2 separate regions of the Homo sapiens genome follow, and region 2 is linked to region 1. Evidence: promoter capture Hi-C in human tissues and cell types (Jung and others, 2019). All regions are on one chromosome and are shown on one strand. Each heading gives the region's core, a stretch centred on a gene start or on the middle of the fragment in contact. The rest is flanking DNA. Distances are from core to core; before and after follow the strand shown. Region 1 holds the start of GMIP (GEM interacting protein). Region 2 holds the start of CILP2 (cartilage intermediate layer protein 2).

Region 1 (5,331 bases), core at 724-3,223:
TGTTGTGTGTACTGCCATATTCCCAAAACCTAAACGATGCCTTGCATGGAACAGGGGATCAGTGGTGATTTGTTGAAGGAAAGACTCCTGTCTGTCCCCACTGTCCTGGCCTCCAGACCCCCCTACCTGTGAGGGGTACAGGACCCTCTGGGGAGGGGCCGCTCCAACAGCTGGCTTCGTTGGTCTGTGCGGGAGGGAGACAGTATTCAGAAGCAAACAGGGCAGGGGCCTGGCCTTCCTAAGGCCCCCTCTGCTTGAGGTCTTCCTCCCTGTTCCCCTACTCCCCACTCACAACAGTGGCTGTAGGGGTCTTGTCAGGTTCTGGGTCTTCTGAGAGTAGAGGGTCTCCAGCCAGCATCTCAAGGGTCCTGGGGGATAAAGGTGTGTCAGGATGCCACCTTACACCCAGTCTGTCCTGCCAAGGGGTGCTGGGGACCTTAGGGTTGTTTGTGGCAAACATCACCTCTGTGGCATCTCTTGTGTCTGGGAGGTCTGAAGAATGGTGTTTTGGGGGAATCAGGTGAGTTTTTTTTAAATAGGACTTGAAAAAGCATCTGAAGGGCCCCAGATAACTTTGAGGTTCATAGAGTGGGATTATAGGGATCGCAAATATTTTAAGGGGTTACAAGGATATGTAGGGGTTCTAGGACCACTTTGGGGATTTCCAGTCTATTTAGGGGGACACTTTTAGGATACCGAGGCATTTTGGAGGGTCCCATCCTAGACTTCTCTGGTTATTAGGTATGTAGGTCCAGATGTTACAGGTTCCAAATGGGACTGCAAGGCACCTAAATGGTTAGGGGCTTGGGGCATCTTGGCAGGATTTGGGGGTGATCCAGGCTCAGACTCACACGTTCCCCAGTGAGATTTCGAGGTTGTCCAGGCTCCGGAAGATGTCACTGTACCTCTTCCTGCCCTCAGGACCTGGGGGGAGTCCTAGGGGAGGGGAGTGTAATACATGGGCTAACCACTGCCTCCCTCCACCCACGGCACCTCAACCAGTCTCATTTGGAGGGGGTGGAAGAGAAAGGGAAGAGTGAGAGAGAGAAAGAGAGGGCTGGGGGGGGCTTGGTTGGGGCCAACTCGAGGCAGGCAGATGGACTCACACACCACCAGAGACCAGAGACAGCTGCTCGGGGAACAGAGACACCCACTCCCTGGGTCTGCCTGCACCCAGAAGCAAACCAACAAAACAGATGCCCCAGATGCAACCAGGCTGTCCCGAGAAGAAAGCCGGTCTGACAATGGAACCACGGGCTAGACAGATGGAAATACACAAGGGACAGCCAGGCAGAGCCTGGGGCAGAAACACACATGGAGAGACTGAAGCCGTGAGGGACATAAAGACCGAATGACACTCCACATACACAACACAGACACAAAGACGGCCGGAAACACCAAGTCGGACCCCGCCACATTTCTACTGCTGCCCCCCTGCCCCCTCTCCTAAGGGGCCTAGACCAGCACTGCCGACTCCCCAGGGCTACAGAGGGGCCCTGTGGGGATCCTACCGCGTTGCCCTCTCCCTCAGCAGTCGTGGCACCCTGCCCCCATCACAAAAATCAGAAGCAGAAGCAGTCACTTCCCCTTCCTGGGCCCCCTCCCCCAGGCGTCTGGGGTGAGGGATCAAAAGGGGGAGGGGGAGTGAAGGGCTGGGGTCCTGAACCCATCCGGGCACAGGGCTCCCCACAATGGAGGATCCCTGGGTCCTTCCCATTCAGGAACTCCTCTCCTGGCTCTCAGGACGGAGCGGGACAAGTGTGTGCCCTCAATGTAGGAAGCAGGGGATGGTCGGGGGAGGCCCCTCCCGGATCCCCGACCCCCTACCCGGCTCTGCTGCGTCCATATCTGGGCCCGGGGATCGCTCTGCAGGGACCGGGATGGGGATGGGGTCGCGCGCCGGCGGGGCCGAGCCCCGATTTCCTGCCGCCGCAGCCGCCGCCGCCGCCTCGGTTCCGCGTCGCCCTGCCCAGCGGAGGCCACGCCCCCGCATCAGACCACGCCCCCGTAGCCCGGAAGCCTTGATAGTGCCCTTCTCTACCTGAGCCGCTTGAAACTGGGTCGGGCCAGGGCCCCCTGAGCGACCACTCGAGGCTGCAGTGCCCCTGACCTGGGCATCCTAAGACTTCATCTGGGCCATAGGTTCCCTCTCAGATCTTTGTGCTACCCCAAATCCCACGGAGCCCCAGCCCCCTCCTCCCTGAATGGTTGCAGAGTCCACCTGTCCCGGGGGGCCTCTCCCAGGAGCTCCCACAACCCGCGACCCTGGTGATCCCCTTGCCCAGGTTGTCTCTCGGAGCCCTGAAACCACCTGGGCCTCGCTGGAGCCATGGCGCCCCCTGGTGGAGGCCTGATATTCTGTCCGATTCCAACCAAAATTCTAATACTCGGGCTGGAGAACCCCTGGCCTGGGGGACGCCCCTTCCGTGACCCTCAAAGCTGGATCAGGCTCAAGGCCCCAATTACAGCACACCAGGGAGCAGCCCTTTTAGGTAGGGAGTGGAGGTTTGTCCAAAAGCACCAGCTCTGGGGTTGCCACAAGCCGCCTGTTATAAAAATGCTCCCACCCCCAGCACAGTGGAATTTTGGGGCTGGAAATAGACTTTAAAGTATGTTTATAACTTTGTGTCCAAAGGCTTTGGCTGTTAAGGAGGCAAGGATTCTCTGACTGGCTCCGTGCTGCCTACTCTGCAGTTCTTGAGTTGTGATGAGTGAGTCCATTGAAAGGAATAACACTATCAACCTAAGAGCCAAGCCAGGTTTCCAGGTCACATCCTGGCTGATGCTCAGCCAGAGCTCCCTGACTGTGACATGAGATGGTAGAGCAGCGCAGGCCCCCAAAGAGCATGACAGAGTCAGTACTTGTTTGTTTTTCTTTTGAGTTGGAGTCTCGCTCTGTTGCCCAGGCTGGAGTGCAGTGGCGTTATCTCGGCTCACTGCAAGCTCCACCTCCTGGGTTCACGCCATTCTCCTGCCTCAGCCTCCCGAGTAACTGGGACTACAGGCACTCGCCACCATGCCTGGCTAATTTTTTGTATTTTTAGTAGAGATGGGGTTTCACTGTGTTAGCCAGGATGGTCTCGATCTCCTGACCTTGTGATGGGCCCGCCTTGGCCTCCCAAAGTGCTGGGATTACAGGCTTGAGCCACCGGACAGAGTCAATACTTGTAATGATGCAGATCATATTCCTCAAGTCTCAGACACCACCCGAGAGAAAGGCATGCTGTTATGTATTATGGGAAAGAAAAAAATATCACACATCCTAAGGCTTCTCTCAGCACCTGAGTTGTTAAAATGTGAAAGAGACCTCAGAAATATGGGGGTGCTTGTTAAACTAGAAAATATGCACTGAATTCTCTGGGCAGGGACAAGTCCATGTTCAAGTGCTGAAAGTGCCAGAGGGTTTCACCAACATCACACGCCTGTGGGGAGGGTGCTGGGACCTTCCTCAGTGACCCTCTGTCCCCGAGCCCCCAGCAAACACCGTGTGGCACAGACGAGGTGGAGGCAGGGCTTTTTAAAATCTCAGATGCTGCTTTATTTACCAAAGGTGCTGGCTTGGGGCTGGTTCTGCTGGCCAAGCCAGCGGATGGCTGTGGGGGTCCCAGCTCAGTCTTCCAAGGGCGAGACTGTACAGCCTTGCTGTGGGGGGTTGGGGGCAGGGTTCCCTCCCGGGGCCCTGTTGGGGTTCCCGCCCAGCGGCAGCCAGGGTGGGCAGTGGGTACCAGCACTGCCATCTCAGGAAGGCACTTTCAGCTTCGGGGTCCCCAGGAAGAACTGCAGGACGCGGTCGGCCAGGAGCGCCAGGCAGAAGTCCAGGAGCAGGACCTGGGCAATGACCAGCTTGAACTGTCGGGGCAGGGAGGGATGGTGAGCTGGAGACCTGCAGCCCAGCTCAGGGTCACTGCCATAGGAGGGACCCATCAAGCTGAGCCCCAGGGTCACCTCCACAGGGCCACTGACCTCCACAGGGATGTCCACGAGGCCAAACTGGCTGTTGAAGTCGGGCGAGGAGCCGAGGAGCAGGCCAATGATGGCCAGGAGTGAAACTGCCAGACTCCACACCAGGGGCTTGTTCTCGGGCAGGCTCTCCATGAAGGGCGGGCCCTGTGGGGATGAGGGACAGATGGCTTCATGGGGTGGGGCTGGGTGGGCAGACAGTGAATGTTTGGGCAGGGCCCAGGCCTTACTTTGTAATTGATGGCGAAGGTGGCCATCTGCATGGCCATGGCCATGATGTAGACGGTGCTGTTGACCAGGCTTGGCTCAAACTCCTTGTACAAGTCCACGAACTGCTCCTGCCTGCAAGGACACATGGGAGTCAGGGCCCCCTCTCCTGCTCCGGCTCACACACACTGTGTGGCTTCCTGCTGCCCTGGCACAGAGCTAGGGCTCTGCCTGGCCTAGTGCCCCTCCCTGGACACCCTGGACAACCCCCAGCCTCTCCTGCTGAAGTCTGTGGAGTCATCCTCCTGCTATTCTCAGCTGCAGGGACATCACCTCCTCCAAGGCAGCACTTACTTCTCGGGGCTCCGGGCCTGGGCCTCACGGTACAGGTAGACAAGGCTCAGGAAGTGCACAAAGAACTGGAGCATGACGGTGAGGATGGTGTACAGGTTGAAGATGTTGGGCAGGGGCCGTTCTCGGGAGAGGGTCTTGAGGGGCTGCAGCAGCAAGGCGGGTGGGGGAGTCAGGATCTGGCTCACTTGGGGCCACCCTGCCCACACAGCAGGCAGTAACATCCCCTGCCTCCCGGGAGACCTTGTGTACAGCCACCACCAAATCCTGGGGGATTCCATGGGTCAGCACCAGTCCCTGGATCCCTGCCTGCCTCTCACCCCTGAGCCCAGGGCTGCCTCCCTGGCCCCGGCTCCGCCATCCAGGCTCCCCATGGCAGCCACAGGGGCCTGAGAATCATGAAGCAGATCCTGCCCTCCCTGGAGCCCACGGGACAGGCACAGTCCCGCCCAGCCAATCTCCCACCCCCTCCAGCCACCGGGGACTCCCTGCGTCAGCCCATGCCTGTTTGGGGCCTTTGTGTCCAGTTCCTGGCCGCTGGCCCCCCTGGTTCTTTACGCCTTGGCCTGAGTGTCGGTGTCGCACAGGCCTCCCCAGCTGTCCACCAGCCTGTCCTGTGTAGCCTATGACCCACTTAGTTGTTTTTTTACCCTCTTGATGATTGTTCCTTGCTTGTGGGGCTCTGTGGGGCCCACCCCTGGGACCCCTACCTGTGGACAGGTGTGGACGCCAAGCTGTACCACCTGGAGGGGTCTGGGAGCCTCAGTCCACACCTGCCCTGCCAGCATTTCCTGAGCCATCCCAGCTACAGCC
Region 2 (3,832 bases), core at 902-3,401, 110 kb before region 1:
CATCCCAGCAGGTGCCACAGAGCAGGGGCACCAAGGGAGGCGGCGTGCTGTCTGATCTGAGTAGGGAGGCTGCAGGCTCAGCCTAGGACAGAGAGGGTGGCTCTGTCAGGTCAGAGGGGATGGTTAGGAACCTCTAGTCTGAGGGTGGTGGCTAGGGTCAGAGAAGGATTAAAGTCTGAGGGAGGATCCAGTGTCTTCTGGTGAGTGGCCCCAGAATCAAGTCAGAGATAGGAGAGAAGGCAAGGCTCCTAGGCTGAAAGTGGAGGCTCATTCAAGAGGTGACGGAGGCTGGGTGCAGGGGTCACACCTGTAATCCCAGCACTTTGGGAGGTCGAGGTGGGCGGGTCACCTGATGTCAGGAGTTCCAGACCAGCCTGGCCAACATGGCGAAACCCAGTCTCTACAAAATACAAACATTTGCTGGGTGTAGTGGTGCACGCCTGTAGTCCTAGTTACTTGGGAGGCTGAGGCAGGAGAATCGCTTGAACCCGGGAGGCAGAGGTTGCTGTGAGCTGAGATCGTGCCACTGCACTCCAGCCTGGGCAATAGAGAGAGACTGTATCTTAAAAACAAACAGGCTGGGCGCAATGGCTCACACCCATAATCCTAGCACTTTGGGAGGCCGAGGTGGGCAGATCACAAGGTCAGGAGTTCGAGACCAGCCTGGCCAATATGGTGAAACTCCATCTCTACTAAATATACAAAAATTAGCCAGGCATGGTGGCGTGTGCCTGTAGTCCCAGCTACTCGGGAGGCTGAGACAGGAGAATTGCTTGAACCCGTGTGGCAGAGGTTGCAGTGAGCCGAGATTGCACCATTGCACTCCAGCCTGGGTGACTGAAGACAGAGGCTGGGTCAGATGGAGGAGGGCGATTGAATAGTAGGATAGGAGCAGAAGCAGAAAGTCTGAGTGCAGAAGCTCTGGTCTGATTGGGAGGGAAACACCTCCAAGGACTGGGAGAGACTTGTCTGAGGGCGGAGGCAGAGTTCTAGGGGGCGACAAGTCTCACCAGGACCCATGTGCCAGAGAGAAAAGGCTGGGTCTGATGGGGGAGGGGAAGTGGGGGTGGGGCAGCAGGACTCTGGTCTGAGGGCAGAGGCTCAGTGTTGGAGGGGAGAGGAGAGGAGGCAGGGACAGGATGGACTCTAGGCTGAGGGCAGGCCACCCTCCCAGTTCCCAATCCCCCCGGACCCTCCTCCCTCAGGCTGGGACGCAGAGACCGGCAGCGATTCGGAGGACGGGCTGCGGCCTGACGTGCTGGTGTCTCTCGCGGCGCCCAAGCGCTGCGCTGGCCGCTTCTCCGGGCGCCACCACTTCGTGGCCGGCAGGTTCGTGCCCGATGACGTGCGCCGCAAGTTCGCTCTGCGCCTGCCGGGATACACGGGCACCGACTGCGTCGCGGCACTGTGACCGCCACCCGCGGCCACACCGCAGGGACCCTCGCCAATAAACAGCCCTCCCACCACCGCCGCCTCGCCTCCGCCTCCTTTGTGCACCGGGCCCGCTGCGGGGGTGGGCACACTCGAAGAGGGACTTCACACGGTCCCTGGGTGATCCAAGGCGGGGAGCATGAGAAGGGCGGTGGAGTGGGACTTCCCGCTGGCCTAGAAAACTTCAGCTAGGGCTGGGGGCGGTGGCTCCTGCCTGTAATCTCAGCACTTTGGGAGGCTGAGGCTGGAGGATCGCTTAAGGCCAGGAGTTTGGGACCAGCCTGGGCAACATAGCAAGATCCCGACTCTACAAATTAAAAGAAAAAGAAGAAAGAAAACTCGAGCCAGAAGAATGGAGGGTAGATTCAGGGTGGGACTCCCAGACTGTTTGGGGTGGCCTAAAGCCTATAGGATCGAAGTGAGACGCGAGACAGGACTTCCAGCCACCTAAAGCGGGTCCGAGCAGCTTGAGGCTGGATTCCAAGTGACACTTCCCTCAGGCAGCTTGGGATGCAGCTTGGAGGACTGAGTGGGCTCGGGGAGGGAGTTCCAGCAGGCCACGGGGAACCCAGGACAGCCTGAGGACGGAGGCACAGCCAGACGCACCAAGGGGGGCGACCCAGAGGGGTTGCTCGAGCGCCGTCACCCAGGGCCAGGGGGCGTGGCCTGAATGGGGCGTGGCCAGGGCGGGATCTGCGGTCGCATCCCGCCCCCACTCTCAGTCCCAGCGGCCGCCAGACCCGCCGGAGTTGGACCCGAGCACGCCGCGGAGCCCGGACCCTCCCTCGGACGCTCTGCCCCGGCCATGGCGTCGCTGCTGCCACTGCTCTGTCTCTGTGTCGTCGCTGCGCACCTGGCGGGGGCCCGAGGTGAGGCGCCTCCAGCCCCCGCGCCCAGCCCCTGAGGCTCCCGAGGGCCTGGCAGCCGGCCTTGGGTGAAGCCGCACTCGGGGAGAGAACCCAGGGACCCACGCGCTTCCCCGGGGACTGGGTCCCCTTCACCAGTCGGATCCCCGCGACCACCTGGGGCGCGGAGCGGGCCTCATCCATTCTCTTCCTTGGCTAAGCCGGGAGTGTGGATAAGAACCTAGGGTTCCTCCCGGGGTTTGGACTCTGAATCACCGGCCAGGTCTCCCACCCTGGACCGAAGGGGTCGGAACTGGCCCCTCCCACCTAACTCCCACACACGCACTCACTCCAACCGCTGGAGAAAGAAATGCCCATCCCTGGAACACTCAATGGGGCGGGGGACGGGCCCACTTCTCAAGTGAGGAGACTGAGGCACCCAGAAGGAAGGGGCTTGTCTGACCTCATCACTCTGCTGGGAGTATCTTGGACAGCTCCTATCTTGGAGAAGCCAGTCTAGATTCCAAGGACTTCCCGGCAGCTCGGACTGTAGTACAGGGATGGAAGACAGACTAAGGGAGGGGCTTCCAGCAGGCCAAGTGGATGAGGGGGAGCCCAGCCTGAGGGCAGAGGCACAGCCAGCTGAACTTGATTGATCTCGCGGCAGCTGAACATAGTGGGAGGGAGACTCTAGCCTAGGGGAACTGGGTGGTACTTGCACTTCCCCAGCCGGGGGGTTAGGGCTAGGTCAGAGAGAGGTACCTGGCTTTGGGGGCCTGGTGGTGGTCATGGGCAGCGCGCTGGAGGAGAGTGTATGGCAGCCCTTGGGGCTAGAGCTGGGTTCTGGCCTCTCAGAGCCTCAATTTTCCCTCCTGTTAAAATGGGGATCATGGGCCAAGCACGGTGGCTCACGCCTGTAATCCCAGCACTTTGGGAGGCCGAGGCGGGCGGACTACCTGAGGTCAGGAGTTTGAGACCAACCTGGCCAACATGGTGAAACCCCGTCTCTACTAAAAATATAAAAATTAGCTAGGCCTGGTGGAGCGTGCCTGTAATCCCAGCTACTCAGGAGGCTGAGGTGTGAGAATCACTTGAACCCAGGAGGCAGAGGCTGCAGTGAGCCGAGATCGTGCCACTGCACTCCAGCCTGGGTGACAGAGGGAGATTCCGTCTCAAAAAAAAAAAAAAAAAGGGGGGGGATGATCGTGGCTGCACCTTGCCTAAAAGGAGGCTCCCAGCGGTCCCCATCAGTAGCAGCGTGCTTCCTTCTCCCCACTCCTCACCCACAGACGCCACCCCCACCGAGGAGCCAATGGCGACTGCACTGGGCCTGGAAAGACGGTCCGTGTACACCGGCCAGCCCTCACCAGCCCTGGAGGACTGGGAAGGTGAGTTAGCCTGCCTCGGAGTCCCGTCTCTGCTGCGGGCTTGTTGGGGGTGGGGCTTGGGCTACTGGGGTCGTGTGAGGAGAGGGCACACACTAGACGAAGGGCCCGGCGCCGTCCTGGTCCCCGGACATGACAGCCCCTGGAGGTGATGCCCCAAGTTCAAGATCT

The links. Contacts are between HindIII fragments. The study calls those that stand out against the background at their distance.
Region 2: the fragment with the promoter of CILP2 here is called in contact with the fragment with the promoter of GMIP in region 1 in 2 of the 25 tissues and cell types used here (lymphoblastoid cells and mesenchymal stem cells).

What each region holds. Positions count from the first base shown.
Region 1 is chr19:19,641,684-19,647,014 of GRCh38, forward strand. It overlaps GMIP (GEM interacting protein), which reads right to left and starts at 1,974. Exons shown (of 21, transcript NM_016573.4): 1 at 1,828-1,974; 2 at 852-936; 3 at 293-368; 4 at 127-184. The coding sequence starts at 1,846. ATP13A1 (ATPase 13A1) reads right to left here. Exons shown (of 26, transcript NM_020410.3): 23 at 4,522-4,664; 24 at 4,191-4,302; 25 at 3,964-4,107; 26 at 3,515-3,849. The coding sequence ends at 3,739. RefSeq lists enhancers at 851-1,806, 1,028-1,187 and a silencer at 1,818-2,067. The HindIII fragment of the contact is 23,421 bases long and covers 1-5,331 here.
Region 2 is chr19:19,536,114-19,539,945 of GRCh38, forward strand. It overlaps CILP2 (cartilage intermediate layer protein 2), which reads left to right and starts at 2,152. Exons shown (of 8, transcript NM_153221.2): 1 at 2,152-2,300; 2 at 3,566-3,664. The coding sequence starts at 2,237. It overlaps YJEFN3 (YjeF N-terminal domain containing 3), which reads left to right. Exons shown (of 7, transcript NM_198537.4): 7 at 1,206-1,468. The coding sequence ends at 1,411. RefSeq lists a silencer at 2,028-2,397 and an enhancer at 3,490-3,832. The HindIII fragment of the contact is 34,738 bases long and covers 1-3,832 here.